7 separate regions of the Homo sapiens genome follow, and all the other regions are linked to region 1. Evidence: promoter capture Hi-C in 16 types of primary human blood cells and fetal thymus (Javierre and others, 2016). All regions are on one chromosome and are shown on one strand. Each heading gives the region's core, a stretch centred on a gene start or on the middle of the fragment in contact. The rest is flanking DNA. Distances are from core to core; before and after follow the strand shown. Region 1 holds the start of JDP2 (Jun dimerization protein 2). Region 2 has its middle 11 kb from the start of PGF. Region 3 overlaps EIF2B2 (eukaryotic translation initiation factor 2B subunit beta). Region 4 holds the start of MLH3 (mutL homolog 3). Region 5 has its middle 2.8 kb from the start of ACYP1. Region 6 overlaps NEK9 (NIMA related kinase 9). Region 7 overlaps NEK9 (NIMA related kinase 9).

Region 1 (4,268 bases), core at 839-3,338:
GAGTCAGGAGGAGCATTCCCTGGTAGCTGCAAAAGTTAGGCAGTGGATGAGTGGGGAGACCCTTATCCAAACCCTTCCTAGGGGGCATTGTCACCACTTTGCAACACATCTCCTTGGAGGTGGCTGCAGCCAACCTAGGAGAAAAGCCAGAGGTCTACACACCCATGACTTCCTGCAGCCCACCTAGGAGAAAAGCCAGAGGTCTACACACCCATGACTTCCTGCAGCCCTTCAAATCACACAGCACCCAGCTCTTCAGGAAGATTCTGGAGCTGCCTGCAGCTCTGAACCAAAGCCAAAGTAGAAGGGAACAGAAGAGTCTTTGAGAAATCCATCCTCCCTGCTCTAAACAAGGCAAAACCTTAACCACCCAGAGGTGTGAGAATAGATTTTGCTTCTCTTCCTCGATCCTCAGGTTTATACAAAATCAGAGCCATGCTCACACCTGATACCTGGTTAAACTCTCCCCTAGAAACCTGCAAAGGAAGATAAGCTATCCATCCAAGCTGCAGCCAGATTTGCTGGAAAGGTAAAAGCAATGGGAAGTGTTTTTTAAAACCCTCAGGGAAGGAAGGTTGGGGGGAAGGGAGATGATACGCGAATGCAGTTTCTACCAAGGGCTTAAAGGACGTTTGGGTACAAATGTACCCAAACATGGTTCAAAGCTTCCCAATTCCTGATGCTCCTCCAATTAAGACCCTAGGGAGAGACCACCAAGATTTAAGCCTGGGTACACACGCCTAAGCAGGCTGCAAGCCCTTTCTGAGATATAGACCTGAGCACATTTGCCCTGAGCACACGTGGTCGGGCCATAGCCCCATGCCCTGGATTCCAACAGGGAGGGCAGCACCCTGGGCAAGGGCCACGCCATCTTGCAACTGGAGATGACCCAAGGGGGTCGGCTGATTTCTCCTTCCACCAGCCTCTCCATCCCTGCAAAAGAGCCAGGACCTCCCCATCTTCCCCAGCCTCCTCATCTTCCCTGCTCCTCCTACTGACCCAGGCAAAGCCTGGCTCTGCCATCCCAGGGTCCAGGGATCCAGGTGGAAGGCCCAATCCACCCCTACACTCTCCCACCCCCCACTGCACCCCTACCCCTCGACAACCTCCTTTGAAGGGAGGAGCAGAGGAGAGCCTTCTAAGCTGGGCTGGGCAAGGGAGAGGCTGGTTACCTACAGGAGCCTGCTTGCCTCCTTATATAACCTGGCGTGGGAGACAGGAGAGCCCAAAGGGGACCCCGGCCACCCCTAGATCCCCTCCCAGCCCAGAGCTCCGAAGCAATGGCCATGAGAGAAGCTGCCTTCATTGGATGGAAATCCCGAGCCCTTCTCAATACTCTCCTCCGGGTCCGGGTCCTCCGGGAGTCGCGCTTCCTCACTGCCAGGAGGTCCTTGTCATCCCTCCACAATCTAACCCCGACCCCAACCCCGCACCTCCCTGGCCCTTCACCCTCCACCTCCACCCGCACAGCCCATCTCCGCGGGCACTTTTCTCCCCACTCACCCCGCCTTCCCCGCCGCCCGAGGAGAGCACCTCCCTGCAAACGGACGGGGGAGGAGAGCGCGGGAGGGAGAAGGAGGGAGCACCCCGGCTGTCCAGGGAGCGGACGGAGCCTCCCGTCCCGGGGCGGGAACCAAAAGGAAGCCTCAGGCTGCCGGGCGCCTCGCGGGAGGGGCCCGGCTGCAGCGCCCGGCGCGGGGAAAGCTCGAGGTCCCTGGGCTGCGGGAGCCTCCCCGCGGGGCTGGGCTGGGGCTCCTCGCGCTCCGCCCGTGCGGGGGCGGCCGTCCCAGGTGCCCGCGCCGCGCCCTGCCCCGCCCCGCCCGTCCCGGCGCCCCCAGCGCGCGCCCTCGCACCCACCGTGCAGAAGGTGCGGGGGGAGGCGGCGCCCCCGGGGCCGGGGCCCGGCTGCAGGCGCCGTGCCCGCTCCGCGCCGCTGCCGCCCGGCCGCGGAGCTCCGCCCGGTGCCCAGGCCTGTCCCGGCCCGGGAGCCGCCGCGGCGCCAGCCCCGCCGCCGCTGCAGCGTCCGCCGCCGCCAGCGCCCCCCGTCGCGGCCGCCGAGCGTCCCTCCCGCAGGCTGTGGCGGGCGGCGGGACGGGTTGCATCAGCCCCGGCTATATAGCGGCCCCTGGGCGGCGGGGAGGGGTCGGGAATGCGGAACCGGCCGAGCTGCCAGCTCCAGACGTCAGAGGGGGACGGAGAGGAAGGGAAGGAGGGGACCGGGGAGGAGGGGGTGTGGAGCCGGCGCTTCACACCCACTGACCTTAACCTCCCCCGCCGCCTTGGGCGCCCTCCTCCCGCGGCCGCTCGCGCTCCTCTCCCCGCGGGGGCGTCCCGGGTTCCATGCAGTCCCCCGGCTCCGCCACCCCACGGTGCAGGAGCGCTCGAGAAAGCAGGACGCGGCGAGCGGTTATGTAAGCGCACCCCCCGCGCACCGCCGCCCGGCTTGTGCCCGCCAGGCAGCAGCAGCCGCAGCCCTAGGAGAGAGACGCGAGAGGCCGGAGCCGGGGGAAAAGTCAAAAGCCCCTTCACGCACAGCCTGTGTTAACCATGTACCTCAGTCCCGGCGCTTCCCCCACAAACTGAGAGCGACAGGGAGAATTTCCGCACAGTTTCATCCTTGGACACTTCAGGACTGAGCGGGTGAGGAGGCGATCTCGCCAGCCTGCTTTATTTTTCGGTGGAGAAGGATGGGCTGAGATGAAGGCATTTGGGGACTCCTACCCCTACCCACCGGCCCCCGCCAGCGCCCTTAGGCCCCGAGACGGCTGGCTGCACCAGCCTGACCTCTGCTAGGGCTGCAGCCTGAGACCGCGGCTTGCTCTACTGCTGGCGCAGTTTGACCCTTGGGCTTGTACCCTGCTCCAGCGGGCTTCTCCTTTCCACTCCGGACACAGCAGTGAGCAGACCCAGCCCTCAGCAGACCCCAAGTGGCCTTCTTCCCCGTTCCAGCTTCAATAGCCAACCCCACTCCCACCTTCCATCCTTCTAGAGAGGAAATGGTGAAGGGGACTCCAGAGGGAAGGCGACATCCATGGTGCCCTCCAGTATACAAAGGCAGAGACACAGAGCCCTCAGGTAGAACGGGGTTCCCTAGATGGCATCTCCTACCTCCAGAGCTCCTGGGTACCCATCGAGCCCCCTACCTTCTGCCTAAGCCAGATAGGAGTGACGATTTTTATACTCAGCGACTTTCGGCCTCCTTCTGAGAGTGATGTCAGGTCATCACCCATAGAAGAAAGGAAGTGAAAGAAAAAGTTCATGCCTTCTTGGAGTGCAGATGCTCAGAGTGAAAGAAACAACAAGACTTGAGACAGATGGGTGCCATTGAGCAAACCCGAACATGCATGTCTCTCTCATGTGAGTGAGTGCATGAGACTTTATTCTCCTTATTTCCCCAGTGCAGTGAAATCTTTCTGGATAAAAGAAGTGGGCTAATGGAAGGAGAGACAGACCAAGTCCCAATGACATTGCCTGACCATTTTCACCTTCGCCATCAGCAGTCTCCCTCACAGCATTGGTGTGGGCAGGTAAGAAGAAAGCAAGGCCCTGAAAGAATATACATTGGAAAATGAGCAGTAATTTGATACTCTTGTGGAAGAGCATGACTCTTCGCCCCAGAAAGGCCAATGACACCTTTACTACAGCGTAAAGATCAAAGCCAGGGACTGTGAAACTGCCTCATGATGTTTCTCCCATGAGACCTGTGTCTGGATGTTTATATGGAACAAAACATGGAACAGAGGCAATAGTACTTGATGTGTCTTCAGCTGGGGCTTTGGATAAACTAAACTGATCTATATTCAGGGACTAATAATTAGGGTGTGTGGTTAGAGCGCGTCCTCTCTAGGGCCTGTTTTGGACTGTGGCTGGGCCACCAGCAGTCCTACTGGGCCTTTGCTTCCCCCACAAATTAAATATGTTACAGGGGTGGCACCAAGGGGTGACTTGGGAGGCCTTTAGTCCCCTCTACCTCTCTATAATCTCCATTAGATCTTCTCTGTTATTTGCTATTGATGCTTTTCAGTTTCATATAGGACGCTATAAGAACACAGCTTCAAGGCCTCCCTTCCGCCACATACTCCCTACTAGGCCCCTCTACGTAGTCACTGCCTCTGGGAGTGGCTAGAGGGAGAAGCCATAAACTGGGTCCTTTATGCAGACATTGGATGCTGGATGGAGCTGATTTACCACTGGCTCTTAGGGACAGACAAGTGACTCAGCCTAAGGCAGTTTGAATTTAAGTTTCCTATCACAACTAGAAAAGTCCT
Region 2 (4,268 bases), core at 675-3,174, 460 kb after region 1:
CTGACCTCAAATGATCCACCCATCTTGGCCTCCCAAAGTGCTGGGATTACAGGCTTGAGCCATCTCGCTTGGTCTTTTTTTTTTTTTTTTTTTTAATAGAGACAGGGTCTTGTTATGTTGCCCAGGCTGGTCTCAAACTCCTGGCCTCAAGTGATCCTCCCACCTCAGTCTCTCAAAATGCTGAGATTACAGGCATGAGCCACTGAACCTGGTCTGTTCTATTTTATTACTTATTGTTGTTAGTCCCTTACTGTGCCTAATTTATAAATTAAACTTTATCACAGGTATGTAGTTATGGAAAAAAACAGACTATATAGGGTTTGGTACTATCCATGATTTCAGGCATCCACGGGGGGTCTTGGAACATATCCTCGATAAATAAGGGGGACTACGGTAAATAAGTAATACTACAGATGGCGATATGGTTCACCTGTGCCCCCACCCAACTCTCATCTTGAATTGTAGCTCCCGTAACTCCCACATGTCGTGGGAGGGACTCAGTGGGAAGTAATTGAATCATGGCGGCAGATCTTTCCCATGCTGTTCTCGTGATAGTGAATCTCACGAGAGCTGACGGTTTTATAAAGGGGAGTTCCCCTACACAAGCTTTCTCTTGCCTGCTGCCAGGTAAGATGTCCCTTTGCTCTTCCTTCATTTTCCATCATGATCGTGACACCTTCCCAGCCATGTGGAACTCTGAGTCCATTAAACCTCTTTCCTTAATAAATGACCTAGTCTTGGGTATGTCTTTATTAGCAGCACAAGAATAGACTAATAGAGATGGTATTTGGATATGGCAAGCAGCATGACTGTGGCACATGGTTATTGATAATTTTGGTCTCTGGGGAGATGCAGACATCCCTAGGAGAAGTGATACCTCCAAGGGACTCTTCTGAGACCCCTGCCAATTGCTGCTTTACTGTCTCCGTGTGATTCCTTGGCTTTTCTTTCTTTTACTGCTGAATTTTCAGCTCCTCAAAGGCTGAGACTGTGTCTTAAGCCTCAGAATCTCTCCCAGTACCCAGCACAGGGCCTGGAACAAGGTAGATGTCATTCAGAAAGTGCTAAGTGGCCAAGCAAGGTGGTTCTGTAATCCCAAGACTTTGGGAAGCTGAATCAGGAAGATTGCTTGAGCCTAGGAGCTTACGATCAGACTGGGGAGCATGGTAAGACTTCAGCTCTGCAGATAAAAAAATTAGCCAGGCATGGTGGTGCACCCCTGTGGTCTCAGCTACTTGAGAGGCTGAGGCAGAAGGATTCCTTGAGCCCAGGAGTTTGAGGCTGCAGTGAGCTGAGCTCGTGCCACTGCACTCCAGCCTGGATGACAGAGCAAGACTCTGTCTCAAAAAAAAAAGTGCTAAGAGGACTGAGATCAGAAGTCAGACTCCATGCAGCATAAGGAACCAGGAGCCTGAGTTCTGGTTCTGACCTCTAACCTTGCTAGCTGTGTGGGCCTGGACAAGTTCTTCAGCTTCTCTGAGTCTCCCTCACCTCATTCATCTGCCTCACAGCGGTGTTTCCAGCACAAAGTATATGAAAGGAGTCTGAAATCATACGTCTCTATAAGAGATTATTAATACTATTATTGGTTGAATCACAAATCTATTGTCACTGAAAATCTTTCCAGTGCAGACAACCAGAAGTAAAAATGAGGAAAAAAGGGAGGTGCTACGAGGGAATGAGAGGCAGGAGGCCTGGAAAGGGGGAATTGGGCCCCTCCTTTACAATCTGATCCGGGTGTGGGATCACCTGCAAACTGCCTGATATGGTTTGGCTGTATCCCCACCCAAATCTCATCTTGAATTGTAGCCCCCATAAGCCCCACGTGTTGTGGGAGGGACCCAGTGAGAGGTAAATGAATCATGGGGGTGGGTTTTTCCCATGCTGTTCTCGTGATAGTGAGTAAGTCTCACGATATCTGATGGTTTTATAAAGGGCAGTTCCCCTGCACACGCTCTCTTGTCTGCTGCCACGCAAGACGTGACTTTGCTCCTCCTTCCCCTTCTGCCATGATTGTGAGGCCTCCCCAGTCATGTGGAACTCTTGAGTCCATTAAACCTCTTTTTCTTTATAAATTACCCAGTCTCAGATATTTCTTCATAGCAGTGTGAAAATGGACTAATATACTGCCCCCTGTGACCTCAGCATAGGCCTTCCCCAGCACGGGACCCCGGCAATGTCTAATGCAAAAAGCATGGTCTGGCATCATATAACTAGTGTTCAAGTTCCAGCTCAGCCACCTACTGGCTGGGTGACCTGAGGTAAGTTACCCAACCTCTCTGTGCTCATGATTCTCATCACTAAAGTGGGACCAATGCCAACCTCTCAAGCCCGTTGTGAGAAATGAATAAGATCACACATGTATACATGAGCCCTGACATGTAGTAAGTGCTTGGTGAATATGGGTTCCAGGGAATTCTGCAGGCTCCTGGAAGAAAGATACGGAAATGATTCAGGTGCATGATGTCATCTGGAGCATTGAATTCATCATCTGGGAGAACTGGACTCCCCAGAGCTTTCCTGACCTGAAGCTAGAGCTGGAAAGTAAGAGAGTAAAATCACAGATGTCAGTTTCCAACTCCACCTCCATTCTCACCCCACGCCCTCCCACCCCCACCTCATTACACCCAAAGTAGGGGCCAATCCTGTCCCTTAGGATCTCTTGGGCTATAGACTCGAGACCTTGCTCTTTCAGATGAAGGAAGCTGGAGGCAGAGGAGGATCTTTGGAGAAGCAGCCAAGTGTTCTTTGACTCATAGAAGAGTCCAAGGCCCGAGGGGCCAGCTGGAGGTCCACTGTCTGTCTGCTGAAAGCTCTGCTAGACTTTCTGTCTCCTCCACCCCTGGAGATCCAACCATAAGTGGAATTAATCCGGCTCCCCTCTGCACCCCTTGCCCCCAACACAGTTTCCTTCCTGTGCTCCATGGGAGATGAGAGCTGAAAGGGAGGGATGCATCTGGGGAGGCTGGTCTAGCTCAGCTGGACCACAACATCTGTATCCTTAGCTGTGGCCTCCTCGTTCCTGCTTCAAACTGGGAGGGAATGGAAGAGCCCAGTTCTTCCCAGGAAACTGATGTGACTCACTTCCCAGGAGGAGCCATGGAAGAATGCAATCTTTTCTCTATGACACTCATATAGAACCATGGGACTAATTTTCTCACCTTTAGAAGGCAAAAATGGGAAACAGCACATTTTAATAGAAAACTCCAAAATAATAGTGGTTTAAACAAGATAGAAGCTTATTTCTCCAACACATAATAATAATTCTGGATGTAAGCAGGTCAGGGCCGGTATGGCAGTTCCACACAGTTTTCAGGGTACCAATTTCCTTGCAAATAATTCTCATGGCCCAGGATGACTGCAAGAGCTCCTACCATCAGGTTTGAATTCCAGGCAATGTCTGGCAGATAGGGAAGCAGTGAAACATGCTCCTTCCTTTAAAGATACTTCCCAAAGGTCAAGCCCAACATTTTCACTTACACCCAGACCCTAAGAAATTCTAAGGGGTCAGGGATTGGCCAAAACGTAGTTCCAAGGCCACAGCCAGCTCCAAAAAAGGCTGAGAAACAAATTATTTTATCAGGATGACACTGGGTCCCATCCCTCTCCTCCCACGGTCACTGTCTTGATTCAGGCCACTCAGCTCTGCAGTAACCACAGATCTTGTTTTCCTGCCTCTGGGACAAACCCTTCACCTGTCCTCAGTTGTTTCTCCAAAACACACATCTGGCTATATCACTCCCCTGCTCAAGAACCGGCGATGGCTCCCTAGAGCCCTTGGAATAAACTGTGAACTCTCAGTCTGGTCTTCAAATCTCTTCACAACCTGACCCCAGCCAGCCTCACCTCCAGGCATAGCCCTTCCCCTCCCCTGCACACAGTCTAGCCCCATCAGATTCCTAGATGTTCCTCAAATAACCCATACTGTGTCCAGCTTCACTCCTTGACTATAATGCCCTTTCTGCCCTTCTATTCCTCATAAGCTTCAATCCGTCCTGTAAGATGCTACACAAGCATTACTTTCTCCAGGTCACATCTTTCTTGACCCCTTTCCTGCTCCCTCTGTGGGCCTCCTCAGAAGTCTCCCGAACACTCTGTCTTCCACACGCCTGAATGTGCTGGAGAGGACAGGCCACCTGGAACGTGCAGACCTGCTCAGCTGCCTGCAACCACAAGTCTGCGTCAGAGCCCCTGGAAGCTCTTTTTTGCACAGACTTGGTATTAAGCCAATGTTAAGCTGTTCTTCCTGGACTGGAAGCTGCTCGAGA
Region 3 (4,268 bases), core at 776-3,275, 420 kb after region 1:
GGATCATTTTCACCCCAGGCCCATTAGTTACAGAGCACTCAGTCTTACCCAGAAGCATCGGATATAGTCCAGGCAACCGGATCCAAGCGTGTGGGAATCGCAGTGTGCTGCATGTGGGAATCTATCAGGCCAGGATGATTCAAGCAGCAGCCTGCAGAAGTGGGATTTGGCCAGCCTTGCCTGACTCTGGCCTTCCAACTTGCTCTTATCTACTTCCAAAGTAAGGAATGCCCCATGATGGGCCGAGCAGTCCAAAAAAAGTGGCTTGGAGTTAGCTACCGCAATTAGCAGTTTCTCATTATTCAACACTGCATTACCTCTTTTTCATATTAACTGCAGAATTTTATTTTTATGTATTTATTATCCTTCCAAACCCAGTGTTGTAGGAAGAATATTACATATAAATGATAACTTAGGAATCTTGTCAAGTTTTTGTTTCTTCAGCACTAAGTAGCTTATTTTCTAGGCAGGTCTTAATTCTAAATGTAACATGCTTGAAAAAAACACTATTGAAAGGATCCGTCTCTTCAGCATAGTATTTAATATACATATCAGGCAATCACCATCTCAAGCATGATTAGACTCAAGTGCTGCCCTCCATCGTGTGAGGGATGCTGGGAGACTGGAAGCTTAGACTTTAGCTCTTTAAGTTGGTGCAAAAGCAATTGCAGTTTTTACTATTAATAATAATAATTGCCTAGCCATTGTGCAGTACCTTGCAAGAGCTCTTTGGCAAATGAAAGAATAATTCAAAGCAAAGTAGGCCAGATATAAAACACTTCCAAATCACATTTCAAAATTGTTCTTTCATGTCAACTAGGTGCATGTCTGCTAAGGGAGTTTTTGCAAGGACAGGTGGATAGTGTGAGGCCTTTACAATAATCACATCACCATCTGGTACTATCTGTATGGCAGAGCAGTTCTGATGTAGTTGTAGTATTATAGATCATTACAGAGTATGCCAGTCATTCCATGATGGAACTGTGACTGGCAGCCTTCATTAGCCCAAAGACTGATGCAACAGATTGCTTTGAGAAATAGTTTTGAAGCACATCCATGAAACATATGATCCTATGGGTTCCAGCATTGATTTCTTTGAGGTATCATTTTACACTTCAGTTTTTCCTGGTAGAGTATTTTTCAGAGATGTCTCTTCTGAGGCTAAATTAGGAATTTCTGTTCCTTATTCAAGTTCCAAGAATTGTGCCTTTCCTGCCCTCTGCCCAAACTGGAAGATAGAAACCGTGGGAAAAAAGTGTCTTTACAAACTGCACTGTTATCTAACTTGGTTTATTTAGCATATTGAGGAAGACTTTCACATCCATGGAATCCTAGTTCTATTAATTCTCTCCAAGCTACAACAGTTGTTTTTTTGTTTGTTTTTTTCCGAGTTTCTCGGTTCCGCCAGCAAGGCAGGGGTGGGAGGTGGGCACCCCTGATACCAAGGCTGACAGGTAGTGAGTTGATGTGGAACTTCTGTTTCCTCCTGTTCAGTTCAGGTTCTCTCTTTCTGATACTTACCCCTCCTCAAATAGGGAAACGGAGAGAGGGGAAATAAGAAGATGAGCCTTAATAGGGTTTACTTAATTGGGGTCATAAAGATTCTAAAAAGTATGCATTCCTGCAGTTCTGTTCTAGGCACTGTAAGAGCTGACCAGAAAGAGAGCTTCTACCCTTATAACCTTCATCCAACTCAGTCATGCCTGGGAAGGATGTTGGTGCTAATTTTAGACACAGAGACTAAGATGGACAAAGGACAAGTATCATAAAGCATTTTTGGAGCCAGGAACAGATTTAAGTTCCTTGCCTCACTGCTGCTCTTACTCCAAACCACACAATTGTACCCAAGTGAATTGCTGTTAGAATTGGTGCCTTTGGAGGAGACAATTGCTCGTAATTGGTAGCTACAAGCCACTTCACTGAGAAAGCGTGGGGTCTTAGATGCTTTAAGAAATAATAGAAAGACTGAGCCTGAGTGAGTCAGGCTCTTCTGAGTCATACAGCTTTTAGGTCAGTGTAAAATGCCGACTTTCTGAGGTCTTACTTTTTTCCCCTCTCTGGAAGACCTAAGGCAAAGATCGCTCTCAAAGAGATATCAAAGAATAGAGACCTTTCCCTCAGAACCTACCTCTGCCCAGTGTTAACCAAAATGTGGTTTCAAATCACCTGTTCAAAGCCCACAGGCTATTTGTTAAACATGCAGATTCTTAGTGCTCCCTCCACCCACACAGACACTGCACAAGAGGCCCTGCTTTGGACCACTAGTTCCTAAACATGGCAGAAAATCTGGATCACCTGGGAGACTTTTTAGGTTAAAAACCGGAAACAATATGTAAGCATAAACATGTCAACAAAATTAGAGGATGTCCCTCTGCTTGCTGTGCTTGGTATTATACTTCTATACTGTTTCCCTATGCGTGTACATATAATTTTGTTTTGTTTTTGTGAGACAGAGTCTCACCCACTGTTGCCCAGGCTAAAGTGCAGTGGCCCAATGGCACTGCTCACTGCAACCTCTACTTCCCAAGTTCAGCCTCCCGAGTAGCTGGGACTACAGGTACCCACAACCACACCTGGCTAATTTTTGTATTTTTAGTGGAACTAAAAATTTTATTATAGTATTTTAGTTTCGCCATTTTGACCAGGCTGGTCTCAAACTCCTGACCTCAAGTGATCTGCCCTCCTCAGCCTCCCAAAGTGCTGGGATTATAGGCGTGAGCCATTGCGCCCAGCCAGTGTTGTTTTATGGAAATGAGTCCGTATTATGCATATTGCTCTGCAGCTTGTTGTGTTTTTTTTCCCCAGCTTGTTTTTAACTAACAGAGTATCAAATGGACTTCCTTGCAAATCTGTCCCATTCTTTTAACACCAGGATCACAACTCAAATGCCTACAGGGGTTAGGCAGATAACATAAATGAGTTAAATGGATCCAGTAGGAACTGCAGAAAACTGGAGATGTTCCATCCAATGGCATCAGATGTTACCCAACCACAAACTAACTACTGCCATTTGGAAATGTTGGCCCAGAGTTGCCAAATTTGAGTTTTCAAGAAAAGCAAGAAATCTGAATTTTTGAAATGTGCAATCTCCAGATTTTTAAATATTGGTAACAAATTCACATTAAATGCAGTGAACCAGCCCAAATGCCTTCAATCCAGACACTGCCCCTCCAGCCATCCTTTTGAAACTTCTATTGCCATGTATAATGTTCCACGGTGTAACTGTCAATACTTAACCTTTCTCCTATTGCTGGACACTTAGGCTATGACATTACAACTACTACACTGAACACTCTGTATAAATCTTTTTGCTTGTACAAATAATTCTAGAAATACAGCTTCCAAATTGCCCTCTAAAAGGCTGTACCAATTTATAGTCCTATAAACACTACATGAGACTATCCTTTTCTGGGAAGCTTTAAACAGATTCCCAGGTAGTAACCCTGAGATCAGATGCAGTAGGACTGAGATGAAACCCAAGACTGTGTGAGTGAGTGATCGGAATCACTCTCAGGTGATTCTGATGATCAGCGAGGTTTTGGAACTACTGTTTTAGACTATGAACAAACTTTGGGGCCAGGAGCAGTGAATTGTAAAGGAAACTATACTTTCATTTGTACTTGTTATTTTTTTAGAGACAGAGTCTTGCTCTATCATCCAGGCAGGAGTGCAGTGGTACAATGATAGCTCACTGAAGCCTTGAACTCATGGGCTCAAGTGATCCTCCCACCTCAGCCTCCAGCATAGCGAGGCCACAGGCATGTGCCACCATGTCTGGCTAATTTTTTAAAATATTTTTTTGTAGAGACAGGATCTTGCTATGTTGCCAGGCTAATCTCAAACTCCAGGCCTCAAACAAGCCTCAAACAAGCCTCCCACCTCAGCCTCCCAAAGTCCAGGATTACAAGTGGGAGCCACTGCATCTGGCCAGTACTACCATGTTGTACACTTTTCCCGCTAACTACAGCCCTCTATGCAAACACAAAAAAGGCTCTGCTGCTGCTGTTTCAAGCAGTTCTGTCAGAGTAGGACAATAAATAAACCAACTATGGAACCTTCAAGTGGCTTTTATTGGTAGAGCCTAGAAAAAGTGTCATAGCCATTTCTGAGCAAAAATCTGTATCCCAGTAAGGTATTCAGTGTTATGTTTAACACACTACTGAACCAGAAAGTTTAAGTTCCTGACACAGACGCAACCAGGTCACTAAGAGGCTCCAAAATCAACAAGTTAAGCCCTGCTGCTCTGTTAAGATCTGAAAGGCAAGACA
Region 4 (4,268 bases), core at 819-3,318, 380 kb after region 1:
GGTACCGGTTCACTGAACCCTGGGATGCGGATCCTTGGCTGGAACAACTGGTGCGCATGCGCACTGGTGTCTCGCGGCCTGGCGCGCCCCCTCCGAAGCGCATGCTCGTGGGCACGCACGAGCCTCAAGATCCAAGGTGCGCGCGTCGGCGTCCGAGGCGGTTGGTGTCGGAGAATTTGTTAAGCGGGACTCCAGGTGACTCTGGGGGAAGCACGCGACGAAAAGATGATGCCGGGGTCTCTTCTAACACCAGAAGGGCCCTGATGATGGCTGCGCGCAGCTTTCGGAGCCGGATGCGCGAGGGCCCCGGAGGCCCGGCGGCCTGGCGGCCGGGCGGGCCCAGTTTGGGGACAAGGACGGGGCTGGCCAGGGAGGGGCTGGGCCTGGCGGGAAGGCAGCGCTGCCCCGGACTCGGCCCGCGCGGCCCTCCCAGGCCCCCGTGCCCTGGATCCAGGCCCGTGCGTCCCGTCAGTCCCAGGCGCTGGGAGGCGTCATCAGGAAATCATTGGGTTTACATTAATCGGAATACTTGTTAAACGTTTACCCGTCAGTTGCTGCCGGCTGCTTAGTGCATTAGCTTAGAAAGCAGCAGAAATTCTGCAGTTAAGAGCCCTGATTTGTCCCGAGTTTGGAAAACCGGCCCCACCGCCTGCAGGGGCCCACCCACGTGGCTCTCACTGATGGAGAAGAAGGGGAGACCTTTAATGGCACTGGAATCTTAGGGTTTGGTTTTTTTTGTTTTGTTTTTTGTTTTTGTGTTTTCACTTGCAGGAAAACTTAAAATCAAGTTCAGGCAGCCCCATGCCATCATTATTATTACCAAGGTAGTTTATGCCCATCTGTAAAGACCAAAAGAATATTAATAATGACCTTCTGGCCGGGCGCGGTGGTTCACACCTGTAATCCCAGCACTTTGGGAGGCCAAGGCGGGAGGATCACTTGAGTTCAGGAGTTCGAGACCAGGCTGGTTAACATGGTGAAACCCCATCTCTACATAAGAGACAAAAATTAGCCAGGCATGGTGGCGAGCGCCTGTAATCCCAGCTACTCGGGAGGCTAAGGCTGGAGGATTGCTTGAGCCCGGGAGGTGCAGGCTGCAGTGAGCCGAGATTGTGTCATTGCACTCCAGCCTGGGTGACAGAGTGAGACTGTTTCAAAAAAGAATAATAACGACTTTCTAAAAACATCAGAGTAATACATGAACAGGATTTAACAATCAAATGGCAAAGAAAGGTTTATATGAAAAGGAATTTTCCTGCTTTATCTTTTCCCATTCCCAGCCTCTTTCCCTGAGGTGACTATACTTAACCATAATAATAATAACCTCTTAATGCCCCCAATCTCTCTTTGATACAATTTGATTCTTAAAATTTCTTCCTATTGCTTCACCTTATTACAATGTCTTAGCAATTCATTATAAGTATTTTTCTAAAAGTCATGGTTATTGTGTAATGTATAAATGTTATGAAACTAGCTTGGACATTTTTGTCATGAATAATTTCTAGCTAATGTTCCTTAGCTGTATTTAATTTAGGCATCTGTTTTTGGTGAAGTGGTTAGAATTTCGAATACTGTGTTTACTGGTCAACTTCAAGTGTAATTATGATTTCACTTTAGGACATGTGGGATTTAGAAAGGAGCATTGAAAATTATGAAATTATGAATTTTTTTTGGATGTTAATCCATTGCACCAAGCATGAGCTGTGCCTAGAGATCAGCGGTATAACTTTGTTTTGCTTTGTTTCACAATTTGGTTTAATAAGAGTGATTTCATTTACCTCAAGTGCTATTTCTTCATAATGCTGTGTAATGCTAAAGCTTTGATTATGTGCGTGTGTGGTTTTTTTCTCCAATAGGCAATTATTTCCAGTCAGAGAAGGAAACCAGTGCCTGGCATTCTCACCATCTTTCTACCTACCATGATCAAGTGCTTGTCAGTTGAAGTACAAGCCAAATTGCGTTCTGGTTTGGCCATAAGCTCCTTGGGCCAATGTGTTGAGGAACTTGCCCTCAACAGTATTGATGCTGAAGCAAAATGTGTGGCTGTCAGGGTGAATATGGAAACCTTCCAAGTTCAAGTGATAGACAATGGATTTGGGATGGGGAGTGATGATGTAGAGAAAGTGGGAAATCGTTATTTCACCAGTAAATGCCACTCGGTACAGGACTTGGAGAATCCAAGGTTTTATGGTTTCCGAGGAGAGGCCTTGGCAAATATTGCTGACATGGCCAGTGCTGTGGAAATTTCGTCCAAGAAAAACAGGACAATGAAAACTTTTGTGAAACTGTTTCAGAGTGGAAAAGCCCTGAAAGCTTGTGAAGCTGATGTGACTAGAGCAAGCGCTGGGACTACTGTAACAGTGTATAACCTATTTTACCAGCTTCCTGTAAGGAGGAAATGCATGGACCCTAGACTGGAGTTTGAGAAGGTTAGGCAGAGAATAGAAGCTCTCTCACTCATGCACCCTTCCATTTCTTTCTCTTTGAGAAATGATGTTTCTGGTTCCATGGTTCTTCAGCTCCCTAAAACCAAAGACGTATGTTCCCGATTTTGTCAAATTTATGGATTGGGAAAGTCCCAAAAGCTAAGAGAAATAAGTTTTAAATATAAAGAGTTTGAGCTTAGTGGCTATATCAGCTCTGAAGCACATTACAACAAGAATATGCAGTTTTTGTTTGTGAACAAAAGACTAGTTTTAAGGACAAAGCTACATAAACTCATTGACTTTTTATTAAGGAAAGAAAGTATTATATGCAAGCCAAAGAATGGTCCCACCAGTAGGCAAATGAATTCAAGTCTTCGGCACCGGTCTACCCCAGAACTCTATGGCATATATGTAATTAATGTGCAGTGCCAATTCTGTGAGTATGATGTGTGCATGGAGCCAGCCAAAACTCTGATTGAATTTCAGAACTGGGACACTCTCTTGTTTTGCATTCAGGAAGGAGTGAAAATGTTTTTAAAGCAAGAAAAATTATTTGTGGAATTATCAGGTGAGGATATTAAGGAATTTAGTGAAGATAATGGTTTTAGTTTATTTGATGCTACTCTTCAGAAGCGTGTGACTTCCGATGAGAGGAGCAATTTCCAGGAAGCATGTAATAATATTTTAGATTCCTATGAGATGTTTAATTTGCAGTCAAAAGCTGTGAAAAGAAAAACTACTGCAGAAAACGTAAACACACAGAGTTCTAGGGATTCAGAAGCTACCAGAAAAAATACAAATGATGCATTTTTGTACATTTATGAATCAGGTGGTCCAGGCCATAGCAAAATGACAGAGCCATCTTTACAAAACAAAGACAGCTCTTGCTCAGAATCAAAGATGTTAGAACAAGAGACAATTGTAGCATCAGAAGCTGGAGAAAATGAGAAACATAAAAAATCTTTCCTGGAACATAGCTCTTTAGAAAATCCGTGTGGAACCAGTTTAGAAATGTTTTTAAGCCCTTTTCAGACACCATGTCACTTTGAGGAGAGTGGGCAGGATCTAGAAATATGGAAAGAAAGTACTACTGTTAATGGCATGGCTGCCAACATCTTGAAAAATAATAGAATTCAGAATCAACCAAAGAGATTTAAAGATGCTACTGAAGTGGGATGCCAGCCTCTGCCTTTTGCAACAACATTATGGGGAGTACATAGTGCTCAGACAGAGAAAGAGAAAAAAAAAGAATCTAGCAATTGTGGAAGAAGAAATGTTTTTAGTTATGGGCGAGTTAAATTATGTTCCACTGGCTTTATAACTCATGTAGTACAAAATGAAAAAACTAAATCAACTGAAACAGAACATTCATTTAAAAATTATGTTAGACCTGGTCCCACACGTGCCCAAGAAACATTTGGAAATAGAACACGTCATTCAGTTGAAACTCCAGACATCAAAGATTTAGCCAGCACTTTAAGTAAAGAATCTGGTCAATTGCCCAACAAAAAAAATTGCAGAACGAATATAAGTTATGGGCTAGAGAATGAACCTACAGCAACTTATACAATGTTTTCTGCTTTTCAGGAAGGTAGCAAAAAATCACAAACAGATTGCATATTATCTGATACATCCCCCTCTTTCCCCTGGTATAGACACGTTTCCAATGATAGTAGGAAAACAGATAAATTAATTGGTTTCTCCAAACCAATCGTCCGTAAGAAGCTAAGCTTGAGTTCACAGCTAGGATCTTTAGAGAAGTTTAAGAGGCAATATGGGAAGGTTGAAAATCCTCTGGATACAGAAGTAGAGGAAAGTAATGGAGTCACTACCAATCTCAGT
Region 5 (4,268 bases), core at 964-3,463, 360 kb after region 1:
CATCAAAAGAAAGTTCATTTTTCTTCTTCGCTTCAGTTCATCTGTGTAAGCCGTTTGGAACAGGCAGTTCGCTTTTTCCCTGTAACTACTCAATTCATGCACATGGAAAATAATGTAGACAGCAGTCATCAGTGTTAATACTTCAACATGTCATATTACAGCTGTTACCCGTTACAAGGAAATTCCTTGGTGGACCCTCCAGATCAGTCTTTTTTTTTTTTTTAATTCCTCGTTTTCATCCCTAGTTGACTCTACCGCCTCTCCGTATATGCAGCTCCAGACGTTTCCCACTCCACTCAGGGTCCCGATTATCAACTCCCACAGCTTCCCTCAGCAGAATTTACCGGCTTTCTTTTTCTCTTTCTCTCTCTCTCTGTCTCTCTCTCTTCTTCCTCCTCTCCCTCTCTCCTCTGTTTCTGTCTCTGTCTGTCTCCCTCTCTCCTCTCTCTCTCTCCTTCCCTCTCCTCTATGAGAAAGAAGGGCGACTTTCCATTGAGTTCCATTGAGTTCTCTTGAATTAGTCCTTTTCAGTACCCTCCGGGAATTGACTCCATCACTTTACCCCTGCATTTTTGTTTTGTTTTGTTTTCTGTTTTGTTGGTTTTTGGGGTTTTTTAAAGTTGTTTGTTTTTTGTTTTTTGAGACGGAATCTCGCCCTGTTTTGTTGCCCAGGCTGAAGTGCAGTGGCGCACTCTTAGCTCACTGCCACCTCTGCCTCCTGGGTTCAAGTGATTCTCCTGCCTCAGCCTCCCGAGTAGCTGAGATTACAGGCGTCTGCCACTACACCTGGCTAATTTTTTGTATTTTTAGTAGAGACAGAGTTTCACCATGTTGGCCAGGCTGGTCTTGAACTCCTGACCCCAGGTGATCCGCCTGTCTCAGCCTCCCAAAGTGCTGGGATTACAAGCATGAGCCACCGGGCCTGGCCTTTGTTTTTGAGACAGGGCCTCACTCTGTTGCCCAGGCTGAAGTGCAGTGGCACAATCACTGCTCACTGGAGCCTCAACTTCCACAGCTCAAGTGATCCTCCCACCTCAGCCTCCCGAGTAGCTGGGACTACAGGTGTGTGCCCCCCACACCCAGCTTACTTCTTTTTTTTTTTTCTGTAGAGACAGGGTCTCCCTTTGTTACCCAGGCTGGTCTCAAACCCCTGGAGTCAAAAGAGATCCTCCCGCCTCAGTCTCACAAAGTACTGAGATTATAGACGTGAGAGACGGCACCCTGTCTGCATCTTGTTAACTTCAAGTTATACCTCTCCATAAACTCTGTCTCTTTGGTTTTAACATATACTCAACTTTCCCCTGCAAAACAAACCTTACTTCCCTTGACCTAACTTTCATATTACAGTCCCATTCATTTCTCCTCTTCTCCACAAGACTTCTTAATGGAAATCTCCACATTTGCTGCCCACATATCCTCATCTCCCCGTCATTGTCCAGTTCATTGTGGCCTGTCTTCTACTTTCTCCACTTTATTTAACTACAAAGCTACCAGTGACTTTCCAAAGACAAAAGCTTCATTTTTTCAGCCTACTCATGTGACATTACTGATTATCCACCCACTTAGAATGCTCTTCTCAGTTCTCCTGTGCCCTCTTGGTTTCTTCTTTCATGTTCTTGCTCCATCTTCTTCCAAGTCTGGCATTTATCTTTTCCCCATCTACTCCCTAAATTTAAGTGTTTTCTGAAGCCCTCTTATTTCATATATATGTGTGTGTGTGTGTGTGTGTGTGTGTGTGTGTGTGTGTGTGTGTAGTTCCAGACATTCTCTTCTTTAATGATTTCAACCAAATGCTGAAATTTCAGGTTTCACCTGTGTTTAAATGACAGCCAGCTTAGCTTTAGTCTTTCTCATTAGTTACAGACTCAAATTTCAGGACTGCCCATTTGACACCTCCACAAGATTGTTCCTTAGGAACCTCAAATTCTGTAAGACAACATAAACTCTGATCCTCTCCCATTCTCAAATCTGCCTCTCCAGTGTGCCCTTGCATGCTCACAGCATCAGTCTTCCATGCTTCCCTCTTTGTTGCCTCTTCCTTCTAACTAATCACAAGTTTTATTGAGTTTTCTTCCTTTTTTTCTTTGAGACAGTCTTGCTCTGTCATCCAGATGGGGGTGGAGTGGCGCGATCTCAGCTCACTGCAACCTCTGCCTCTCAGGTTCAAGCAATCCTCCTGCCTTGGCCTCCCTAGTAGCTGGAAGTACAGGTGTGCACCACCACGCCCAACTAATTTCTGTATTTTTAGTAGAGATGGGGTTTCATCAGTCTCAAACTCCTGACCTCAGGTGATCCACCTGCCTTAGCCTCCCAAAGTGCTGGGATTACAAACGTGAGCCATCACGCCTGGCCTATTGAGTTTACTTCTGCAATGTCTCTCATATATGACTCTTCCTTTACATTTCTGCTGCCCCAGGTGAGTTTTTCCTCACTTCTCCTTGGGATGGCATAGCCCTCCTAACTTCTGCTCTTGCCTTCAATATCTGCTCTTCAAACCCATCCTTCATGCTGCAGGCAAAATAATCAGTCTAAATATTTCTCCACCCCCCCCCAGCTTTATTAAAATATAATTGACAAGCAAAAATTATATCTATATTTGCAGTGTACAAAGTGATGTTTTGATAATGTATGCATTGTGCAGTGATTAAATCAAGCTAATTACTAAATGCTTCTGATCCTACCATTTCCCTCCCCAGTAGCTTCTTCTTTACCTATAGAATAAAGTTGAAATGCATAATTTAGCATGGCATCTCTACCTCCCAGATTAGGTCCAGCCTACCTTTTCAGTTTTGCCTCCCCTTAATAAGCCACAGAGTTCAACCCAGTGAGTCTCATCCCTGACTGTGTGTTAAGACTACTTGGAAAGCAATATCTAGGGGTGAGGCCTGAGGATTAACATTTTTAAAGCTTCCCCAAAGATCCTGATGCACAAGCAGGGTAGCAAACCCCTGGTCTAGCCACAACTGGCTACTTGTACTTCTTCATCTCCATGGTACTACATTACTCTAAGCTCCACATACTGGGAGCTGGTAGAGCATAGCATTCATGGGGATTGACTCTGGAACCAAATCCCAGCTCCATCACTTACTGGTTGTGTGACCTTGGATTAAATGCTGTTTCCTCCAAGAACTCTTTCCCTGTCTTCCCAATCAGAATTAATTTGTTTGCTCCTTTGTAATATTTTCTGTCCTTGTTATAGCACAGGGCTGGTTCCTGATGAGCTCTCAATGGATTTTCATGGAATTAAATTATCATGCCATATATTTTATTGTCATTATTTGCATGCATTTGTGCCCCTACACTAAATTAAAAACTCTTTGAGGGCAAAGATTTTATATCATTCATCTTTGTATATCCTAGAGTGCCCCATTCGTATTAGACACTCAGTAAGTTTTGAATTCTATAAACTATTTTTTAAATGAATTTTAGAGAAAGAAATACCATTAGCAAGATACTCTATTTAGAGTTATTTTCAAATATTGCCAAGTACAACATTCAATCCAGCTTGTTCACCACCAACCCCCCACCTCTCAGCACTAAGGTTGTATGATTCTCTAGGATATGGATCCTCACTCTAGCGGGGAACTAGCAGAATGATGAATTTCCGTGCCTACTGTCACAAACCCATATCTCATTGTCAAGTCTGCCAACCTGGCATATTCACATAAGGAGTCTTTACGTTATGAAGAGGTGTAATGTATACAGTCAATCCACAGAGGATCAATAAACACCACAGTTTTCCTTCACACACATGAATCATAAGGGTAGCTGGATTCAAATGTTTACACATCAACTCTAATTTTAACCATCTTCATCCACATCCCCCTTGACAATTCCCTGTTCCCAAAATAAATTCGTGTAGTTTGGCCATTTGGCTTAGATTGACTGACTCAACTGTAATTCTGGAGCCATGAGTTATTTTGCTTGTGCTCTTGCTTTATTTGTGTAGTTAGCTGGTTATTTGTTCAAGCATTATTTGACATTTTCTTAGTAAAGGAGACCGGTGAGTAGCTTCCAGAAGCCCAGAAGCAGACATAACCTCCATTGGGACCTCCTGTGCACTTATGCCCCGTAATCCCCTATTCCAGATTGTTATGACCCAAACTTTAAGGAGAACTGAATGAAAAAGGACAGAAAGGTTAAATGTATCCTACTCAACATATTTATGATGTTTATTTTTTTATTTATTAATTTATTTATTTGAGTCAGAGTCTCCCTCTGTTGCCCAGGCTGGAGTGCAGTGGGGCAATCTCGGCTCACTGCAGCCT
Region 6 (4,268 bases), core at 602-3,101, 340 kb after region 1:
CTGTAGGTGTTTGGGCTACTTTGTTTTCTCTGAGCCCTGGTTTCTCACCTGAAAGAAAATAATAGACACCTTGTATGGTTCTTTGGAGGATTAAATGAACTAATGTTTATGAAATTACTTTAGAAAATAATATACAGGCTGAGCACGGTGGCTCACACCTGTAATCCCAGCACTTTGGGAGATTGCTTGAGCCCAGGAGTTCAAGACCAGCCTGGGCAACCTGGTGAAACCCCATCTCTACCAAAAATAAAAACTAACTGGGCATGATGGCACACGCCTATAGTCCCAGTTATTCAGGAGGCTGAGGTGGGAAGATCACCTGAATCTGGGGAGGTCAAGGCTGCAGTGATCCGTGATCACACCACTGCACTTCGGCGTAAGCAACAGAGCAAGACCCTGTCTCAAAAACACACACACACACAAGGTAAGATTGGCAGCTATAGCAGGGAGAAGATTGTTTTGCCCAGGACTTTTTCCATTTTAAAACTAAGAGTTCTGCATCCCAGGAAACCCCGCAGTCCTGGACAAACCTGGATAGTTGGTCACCCTACCTGCAGTAAATATAAAGGTATGGACTGTATCTAAAATAGTGCCATGAGCGTCTCACAAGATCGTGGCTACAAATCCTTAGCCACGCCTTAGCCAATGCCTTAGAAGTTGGCATTGAAAATATAGTACTGAACTACTTCTGTGACTAGGTGGCACTGTTGCTAATGTGGAACCGTGTTTTATCCGGACAGGTGGGGATGCATTCCAAAGGAACTCAGACAGCAAAGGAAGAGATGGAAATGGATCCAAAGCCTGACTTAGATTCAGATTCCTGGTGCCTCCTGGGAACAGACTCCTGTAGACCCAGCCTCTAGTCTCCTGAGCCTGTAGAGCCCCCAGGAGACTGGGACCCAAAGAACTTCACAGCACACTTACCGAATGCAGAGAGCAGCTTTCCTGGCTTTGTTCACTTGCAGAAAAGGAGCGCAAGGCAGAGGCTCTGAAGCACTTTCCTTGTACATTTGGAGAGTGGCATTGCCTTTTAGATAGGATCTAGGAGTGATTTTATTGTTTTGGAGAATGGAAGGGCCCCCATGGCCCTGGCTTTGTCATCAGTGACTGCCATAGCAACAGCAGCTCTGTACCTCATCTGTTGATCCCACCTTTGAAGAGGAGACACAGTGCTCACCTTAATTGCGCTGGTAGCAGCTTATATCCCATGTATCATTTTCACCATTGATTGGAAGCTGCCTTGGGAATTCAGTACCAGGCATTACCCCTCTGGGTGGGAGAGGGAGAAGTGTAAAGTTGGAGTGGGCTGGAATCAGGTGTGGCCCGCCCAGTGTCCTCTGCAGAGTGGTGAAGTAGTCTGGCCCTCTTGGGAGCCCTGAGTCCAGGAAAATATGTCTGATGGAGTCAATCTAGGGCTTGTTTCGAAAAAGTTCAGTTACTCTGTGCAGCTAAATGCTTTAGGAGGAAAGGTAGGCTTAGGTTGCTTTTCCTCTGAGGGTTGATTGAAATTTCTTCAGTGAGGAATAGAGAAAGGGCAGGACCCTCCTCATCACACAGCTGGTGTTTCAGGCTGTGACCAATGCAGGGTGGGATTTCCTAACTGTGGATGAGGGGATGAGGTGTCTCTGAGGGATGAGGTGTCTCAGAGAATTGAGTCCATGGGGCAGTCAGAATAGCCTTAAGAGAAAATCATGAAGGAGAAGAGGTCCTCCTTTAGCTGCCTCTACTTGGTATCTTAGAGAGGGCTTAGAGGGCTCTCAGTCTTCTGCCCATGAAAAGACTTCTTTGAGCCTCTGCCTTCATGGCTCTTAGGGTTCTGATCTTGATATCAGCAGCCCCAACCACTTTCTTTCTGAATGTCTAGTCAGTATTTTTCCCCTTTTGGTGTTTTATGAAGCCATGTGGTAACGAATGAATCTGTATCATTTTTCCTACCTGAGTGGCCCAAAGCCAGCACCAAACCCTGGGAGTCCCTGAAGCCTAACAGAACAGGTAGAACTTGCAAAAGGAATTTGGCTGAGAGCTCACTTCTAATCCTGTACTCACTGTGTCTTTGTAGATAGAAACAAGCTAGCTTTACCAAAGAGAAATAGTGTCATAGAAGAACAAAACTTCATATAGAAAGTTCTAGGCAAGTATTTGATGGTTTCCTTAAGGATGTGAGCTTTGTATTTCCACCTAGCCTTGTAAAATGTTCCTGTGGTATTTTGTGTCACACATCCTACCTTTGATGAGTCTCACATCCCACCTTCCTATAAACAGCTAAATTAATTTTGTTTCATCTTCCCCAGACCAAAATGTTTGATAATCTTATCAACATTGTGGGAGGTCTTGTGCAATGGAAATTTTGCCATTTCTCCAAAACTGGTGGCATAAAGGCTGATGCTTGGGGAGAACCCCATTGCTCGGGACAGGCAACTCTGTTCAATGGGATCTTCTTTGGTTTGATGTTCCCATTGTTTTCTCAGTTCTGGGAAGCCTAGTACATTAGTACTAATGTAATCACTGAAACCTTTTCTTGAAATAAGGGAAGCAGCCAAACTTTGATTAAAGTTGCAAGTTCTGGGGACTTGCGGGGGTTGTCATAAACTGTAACAGTGGGTTTTGGTTCAGCATGTAAATGCAACTTTGATTTTCTTGAGGACCGATTGACCTGTCATGTCCCTGTATCCTCATGCTCATCATCTCAGCAGGCCTGAGAGGCTGGGTCAGTTTGGGTGTTCATCATGAGGATTGCTTCTGCCATGGAGCTGATGGACATGGGCAGGTTGCTGAGAAGGTGGGGTGAAAGTGAGTGCCGGGGGTGGGTGAGTGCCCTGGTCTTGTTCATAGGGGAGCCTTTCCCTAGCAGTGGAACGCTGTGGTCATTTTCTCTAGCATATTCCCTTGGGAAGTCTAGATTTGCTATTAATCTGGCTGAGAATCTAAGTTCTGTGCCTTAGAGACAGTTTGCACTTTCCCATATTGTGCCTGGGACAGCCATATGATTTTTTTTCCCACCAAACAAGTATGCAAACAGAAACCAGTTCAAAGGGGGATGGAGTAAAAGATGAGGCAGTAGAAATGCCTTTGAATGGTTTTCTGTAGCTAATTCTCTTTAAATTTTGTCCTGCTTTTTTTCTTTATGCAGTGCTAGGTGTTTTAAGTTTTCTAGTAGTATTGCTTTTGAGTTACAGTATAACCTGAGTTACTCCTCTGCTCTAACATTGTTGCAGAAGAACTAGTTTATTGTTAGCCAGGTTGCTTGAAAGGTTGAGAGTGGAGTGGTTTGGCATTTCTGTTTTAAATAAACATTTAAGCTCTTAATCAGTACTGTGCTTCAGTAAGCCTGTGCATGGACCTTAGTCTCTGGGGATAAAACATCCAGATTCTAAGCCTCCGTGAATCTTTGATTCTGTGAGTCTTTATATAAATAATGTTCTTGGAACAGAAACAATGCAAGGGACATCTGCACAGAAATATTCTTTGCTTCTCTCCAGTTTCTTATTCTTGCCAGCAGAATCATTGCTGCTGCTACAGCTTTTTTCCCAAAAATGTCTAAAAGTGCCGAAAGTGCAGAGGGAGGGAAAAAATGAGCCACTAAAAGAAGGATGATCCTTTCTTGTACCTACCTCCTCAGTCTCAGTGGGGGCCTTTCCAAGTGATAATGCCAGTTTATGGTTTGTAAAACTTTTCCTTCAAAGAGATTGAACTGAATTTGGTCTCCCTGGCATAGCACAGCCAAGTTACAACTTCTCTTGGCTGAGCATTTCACTGAAGTTTAAAGCAAAAGTACACTAAAAAATTTCATTTCACTTGCCATATGTTCACAAACATTCATAATAGAACAATTCAGGGGCAAGAATACATTTTAAATAAATTCATTCACATGAAATCCCTAAACCTCCAAAAAAGTATTCATGATGGTCAGGGCAGAGTGGGCTATAATCAGGACTATAAAACATGTTCCTAACTGCTGCAAAGCCAAAAATCATTTATTGTTTCAATGATTAACTGTGGAAATAAACACGCTGATCATTAAACCTCACAGAATGATGAACATTAGGGAGAAAAACTCCACTATGTCACATCTCTGTTACCACCTGTGTAGCTGTGGAGAGTGATAAATTGATAATGAAAGCAAACATTGGCCAGAAGGTGCTGTGCTGCATTACATACATTGCTGTTAAGAAATACTGTCTCGGGCCAGACGCAGTGGCTCACGCCTGTAATCCCAGCACTTTGGGAGGCCGAGGCGGGCGGATCACGAGGTCAGGAGATCGAGACCA
Region 7 (4,268 bases), core at 1,180-3,679, 330 kb after region 1:
GGCTAAATCAGCTATACCATTTATTGTTAGCAGTGTTTTGGGTTTTCTGTTTTCTTTTTTTTTTTTCTTTCCTTGGGAACTTTTAGCCAAACCAGTTTTTATTTATATTTTAAAAATTAAATTATTATGCATTTCTAGGGACCATCCTCAATGGGATTCCCAGCTGTTCCTTTTCTCCTGGAAAGGCTGTGGCAGAAACTGAGGGTTGAGGTTTCAGGTTTTACACACATCCATTGTGACCCCACACATGCATCACCCCACCTTCTCCAGTCCTGTCTAGTTAGCTGTAAAAAGATATGAGCATTTGGAAGTCCTAGATATTACCTCAGTACTCTGTCACCTCTCCTATAAAATGACCAGATTGGGACCCCACAGGGCTACTGAATTTCTGTAACTGTCAAGCAGCCTTCCATCTCAAAGGACAAAATCAGCAATGAATTGAAGCTTCTTTCTCAACTTTTTGACAGGTCACCCTAAGTAGGACCTATTACTAAGACAAACTGAGAGGGTGCTGTCTTGTTTAGTTGACCTGGAACTGTCACCTTTTCTTTGATATTGTAAAACTTGAGCTCTTCGTTGACAACAGTAGCCTTGACCGAGCACAATGGCTCACGCCTGTAATCCCAGCACTTTGGGAGGCCGAGGCGGGCAAATCACTTGAGGTCAGGAGTTCGAGACCAGCCTGGCCAACATGGTGAAACCCTGTCTCTACTAAAAACACAAAAATTAACTGGGCATGGTGGCACACGCCTTTAATCCCAGCTACTCAAGAGGCTGAGGCAGGAGAATCGCTTTGAACCTGGGAGGCAGAGGTTGCAGTGTGCTGAGATCATACCACTGCATTCCAGCCTGGGCGACAGAGCAAGACTCCACCTCAAAAAAAAAAAGAAGAAAAGAAAATAGTAGTCTCAGCCAGGCGTGATGGCTCACACCTGTAATCCCAGCACTTTGGGAGGCCAAGGTGGGTAGATCACCTGAGGTCAGGAGTTCGAGACCAGCCTGGCCTACGTGGCAAAACCTCATCTCTAATAAAAATACAAAAATTAGCTGGGCGTGGTGGCATGCACCTGTCATCCCAGCTATTTGGGAGGCTGAGACAGGAGAAGTCGCTTGAACCTGGGAGGCAGAGATTGCGGTGAGCTAAGATCGCACGACTTCACTCCAGCCTGGGCAAAAGAGGGAAACTCTATCTCAAAAAAAAAAAAAAAGAAAAAGTAGTCTCTAAGACACTGGGCAAACCTGAAAAGAATAGAGCAGTCCTCACTTTCCTGTAGTCATTCTGCTAAATGCAGCATGTCTCTTTTGAAAGAATTTGAGAGCTTTTTTTCTAATACGAATTATATATTTGGGATTTCTTTTTCTGATTTTTTTCTTGCAGGTGGATGTTCCCAAGGCCTTGATTATTGTTGCAGTTCAATGTGGCTGTGATGGGACATTTCTGTTGACCCAGTCAGGCAAAGTGCTGGCCTGTGGACTCAATGAATTCAATAAGCTGGGTCTGAATCAGTGCATGTCGGGAATTATCAACCATGAAGTGAGTGTCCTGATTGGTGTTCTAACCACATCATCAGAATTTCTCTAGGTTGGAATTTCTTTGAGATGCCATTATTGGTTAGTGACCATGGAATTTGACTTTAGTTATGGTCTCATAGGCATTGTGTGCAGAAAAAGAAGCCAGCCACAAAGAGTACATGCTATATAGCTCTATCTGTGTAAAATTTAAGAACAGGCAAAATTAACTTATACTGGCAGAAATCAAAACTGTGGCTACTTATTGAAGGAGGGGTATTAACAGAAGAGGTGGAAGGGATCCTAGAGTAATGGGAATGGTCTATATCTTGATCTGTAATGGTTTTACCAGTATATGTATATAGAAAAATGTGTCAAGCTGTGTGATATTTTGCAGTGTGTTATACTTCAACAAATAAATTGATTACAAAGAATAAAATGATGAAATTCAGCTTTTACCTTATTGAAATAGGAACAAGCAAATTAATGTTATAAAAAAAAACATATTTCCATGCATCACCTTCCTGGAGTTTTTTTGATTGATTGGAGTTTTTTAGATTTCTCCCAAATCACTGATCCTGTTTAGGCTTATCGAATGTAATTACCATTCTGTCTTCAAAAATGTTAGCAAATTCACCACTGATATTGTCTTAGTTTCCTTTTTTTTTTTTTTATTATACTTTTAAGTTCTAGGGTACATGTGCACAACGTGCAGGTTTGTTACATATGTATACATACGCCATGTTGGTGTGCTGTACCCATTAACTCGTCATTTACATTAGGTATATCGCCTAATGCTATCCCTCCCCCCTTCCCCCACCCTATGACAGGCCCCGGTGTGTGATGTTCCCCTTCCTGTGTCCAGGTGTTCTCATTGTTCAATTCCCACCTATGAGTGAGAACATGCGGTGTTTGATTTTTTGTCCTTGCAATAGTTTACTGAGAATGATGGTTTCCAGATTCATCCATATCCCTACAAAGGACATGAACTCATCCTTTTTTATGGCTGCGTCTTAGTTTCCTTTTTGTGTTAATATAATGAGTTTTGTCATTTTCCAAAGAATAAAATTAAGAGACAGAAGTTTTCTGACTCAATGAAAAAGGTAAGAATTAATTTTTAAGCAATCTCTAAAGTAGTGATTTTCAATTAGGAGAGTACAAATTCAGGGCAAGGCTGGAGAGAGTGTCTTTGTAGTTTGAAAAGAAATATTCAGTTGCCGGGCACGGTGGCTCACGCCTGTAATCCCGGAACTTTGGGAGGCTGAGGCGGGCGGATCACGAGGTCATGAGATCAAGACCATCCTGGCTAACACGGTGAAACCCTGTCTCCACTAAAAATACCAAAAAAAAAAACAGCCAGGTGTGGTGGCGGGCACCGGTAGTCCCAGCTACTTGGGAGGCTGAGGCAGGAGAATGGCGTGAACCTGGGAGGCGGGGCTTGCAGTGAGCCGAGACCGCGCCACTGCACTCCAGCCTGGGCGACAAAGCAAGACTCCGTCTCAAAACAAAACAAAATAAAAAAACAAAAAAAACAATATTCAGAATTACTATTACTTGATTTATGTTTTCATTATAGCAGTGGATTTGTTGTGAAATTTTAAACTTAAATGAGAGGATTCTTTTTTAATACTAATTCAAAGGGAACATGAGTTTTAATTAAGTTGAGAAACACTACCCTATAGATGAAATTAGATCACAGTAAGCTGATTCCTTTATGGGCTGGAGACAGTCCTCAGGACTTTAATTCTTTGCCCTGCCCTTGTTAGATATGCAGAGTGTATAACCAAGGTAAATGTCAACGATTCTCTCCTTATATAAATACCTTCTGGGATGGAAAGTTCATGTTTTATAAACCCTAAGTCAGAATCTAAAACTTTGGTTGTCAGAAAGTTCTGCCTCATGTGCTGCATTCTCTGATTACATATTCAGCTTATTTCCTCTTGTTTTCTGTTGGAGATGGAAAACTACCTGGCACCCTCTTCTTAGTAATATAACTTACTTGAAAGGCCTTTTGGTCACCAGGACTTTTTTCCATTCTCAGCCTGATTTTCCTTCGATTTTCTTACCTCATGCATCTGCTTTGTGTTTTATTTTGTTTCAGGCATACCATGAAGTTCCCTACACAACGTCCTTTACCTTGGCCAAACAGTTGTCCTTTTATAAGATCCGTACCATTGCCCCAGGCAAGACTCACACAGCTGCTATTGATGGTAAGTTGATTTACAACTGTATCACATGCCTTAGTAGCTGAGCCTCTTTTATTCTATCAGGTATTAGGTTTTCTTTATATGTATATCATCCCGATTTCCCCTGAAAATCTAGTATTATTTCATTAATGTATTCAGGTACATATTTTTATTGATAATTATTATAAATGCATAATAAATACATCCTTTTATGAGAACACCACACCTATGATTCCAGACATCTGTTGTCTCTGATTAGCACCTTTTATAAGTATTCTAAGGTAGTACTCATTTTTCTCACTACAAATACAGTACTGGAGAGAGAATACAATATCGAGTCGCTGACTGGATCTAATTGGTTATAGTGCCTAGATACTGTATTTGTCCTAGGTCCAGGATCATGTGGCTAGTTTTATATTTGTATATTCTAACAACCGGAAGCTAATCCATGAAGTCTGCTTGGCTGCATCTTCTCTGGGTTCCAGGACTCATTTGTGCCTTGTTATTTCTTTTTGCTTCTCTCTCAGAGCGAGGCCGGCTGCTGACCTTTGGCTGCAACAAGTGTGGGCAGCT

What was found. Contacts are between HindIII fragments. The CHiCAGO score rates a contact against its expected background, and 5 or more counts as called.
Region 2: a fragment that was not itself captured here is called in contact with the fragment with the promoter of JDP2 in region 1 in 1 of 17 cell types (monocytes); the score reaches 5.4 in monocytes.
Region 3: a contact is called between a fragment that was not itself captured here and the fragment with the promoter of JDP2 in region 1, in 1 of 17 cell types (monocytes). The highest score is 5.8, in monocytes.
Region 4: a fragment that was not itself captured here is called in contact with the fragment with the promoter of JDP2 in region 1 in 1 of 17 cell types (monocytes); the score reaches 6.5 in monocytes.
Region 5: a contact is called between a fragment that was not itself captured here and the fragment with the promoter of JDP2 in region 1, in 1 of 17 cell types (monocytes). The highest score is 5.8, in monocytes.
Region 6: a contact is called between a fragment that was not itself captured here and the fragment with the promoter of JDP2 in region 1, in 1 of 17 cell types (monocytes). The highest score is 5.9, in monocytes.
Region 7: a contact is called between a fragment that was not itself captured here and the fragment with the promoter of JDP2 in region 1, in 2 of 17 cell types (monocytes and neutrophils). The highest score is 6.8, in monocytes.

Annotation. Positions count from the first base shown.
Region 1 is chr14:75,425,842-75,430,109 of GRCh38, reverse strand. It overlaps JDP2 (Jun dimerization protein 2), which reads right to left and starts at 2,088. Exons shown (of 4, transcript NM_001135048.2): 1 at 1,858-2,088. It overlaps JDP2-AS1 (JDP2 antisense RNA 1), which reads left to right and starts at 2,455. Exons shown (of 2, transcript NR_184172.1): 1 at 2,455-2,640; 2 at 3,399-4,268. RefSeq lists silencers at 1,440-1,609, 1,670-1,849, 2,100-2,369 and enhancers at 2,035-2,592, 2,560-2,619, 2,640-2,969, 3,220-3,319. The HindIII fragment of the contact is 6,934 bases long and covers 668-4,268 here.
Region 2 is chr14:74,964,081-74,968,348 of GRCh38, reverse strand. No RefSeq gene overlaps it. Among named protein-coding and RNA genes, the nearest start is that of PGF, 11 kb to the right of the region's middle. RefSeq lists an enhancer at 1,915-3,114. The HindIII fragment of the contact is 2,632 bases long and covers 609-3,240 here.
Region 3 is chr14:75,009,373-75,013,640 of GRCh38, reverse strand. EIF2B2 (eukaryotic translation initiation factor 2B subunit beta) reads right to left here. Exons shown (of 8, transcript NM_014239.4): 8 at 1,275-4,268. Among named protein-coding and RNA genes, the nearest start is that of EIF2B2, 8.6 kb to the right of the region's middle. The HindIII fragment of the contact is 2,787 bases long and covers 632-3,418 here.
Region 4 is chr14:75,047,307-75,051,574 of GRCh38, reverse strand. MLH3 (mutL homolog 3) reads left to right here and starts at 108. Exons shown (of 13, transcript NM_001040108.2): 1 at 108-195; 2 at 1,857-4,268. The coding sequence starts at 1,920. RefSeq lists a silencer at 306-495. The HindIII fragment of the contact is 495 bases long and covers 1,821-2,315 here.
Region 5 is chr14:75,064,668-75,068,935 of GRCh38, reverse strand. It overlaps a transcript of ACYP1 not described here. Among named protein-coding and RNA genes, the nearest start is that of ACYP1, 2.8 kb to the right of the region's middle. The HindIII fragment of the contact is 1,393 bases long and covers 1,517-2,909 here.
Region 6 is chr14:75,081,159-75,085,426 of GRCh38, reverse strand. NEK9 (NIMA related kinase 9) reads left to right here. Exons shown (of 22, transcript NM_033116.6): 22 at 741-4,268. The coding sequence ends at 863. Among named protein-coding and RNA genes, the nearest start is that of ZC2HC1C, 14 kb to the right of the region's middle. The HindIII fragment of the contact is 8,341 bases long and covers 1-4,268 here.
Region 7 is chr14:75,101,108-75,105,375 of GRCh38, reverse strand. NEK9 (NIMA related kinase 9) reads left to right here. Exons shown (of 22, transcript NM_033116.6): 14 at 1,379-1,534; 15 at 3,611-3,719; 16 at 4,223-4,268. Among named protein-coding and RNA genes, the nearest start is that of NEK9, 24 kb to the left of the region's middle. The HindIII fragment of the contact is 3,965 bases long and covers 447-4,268 here.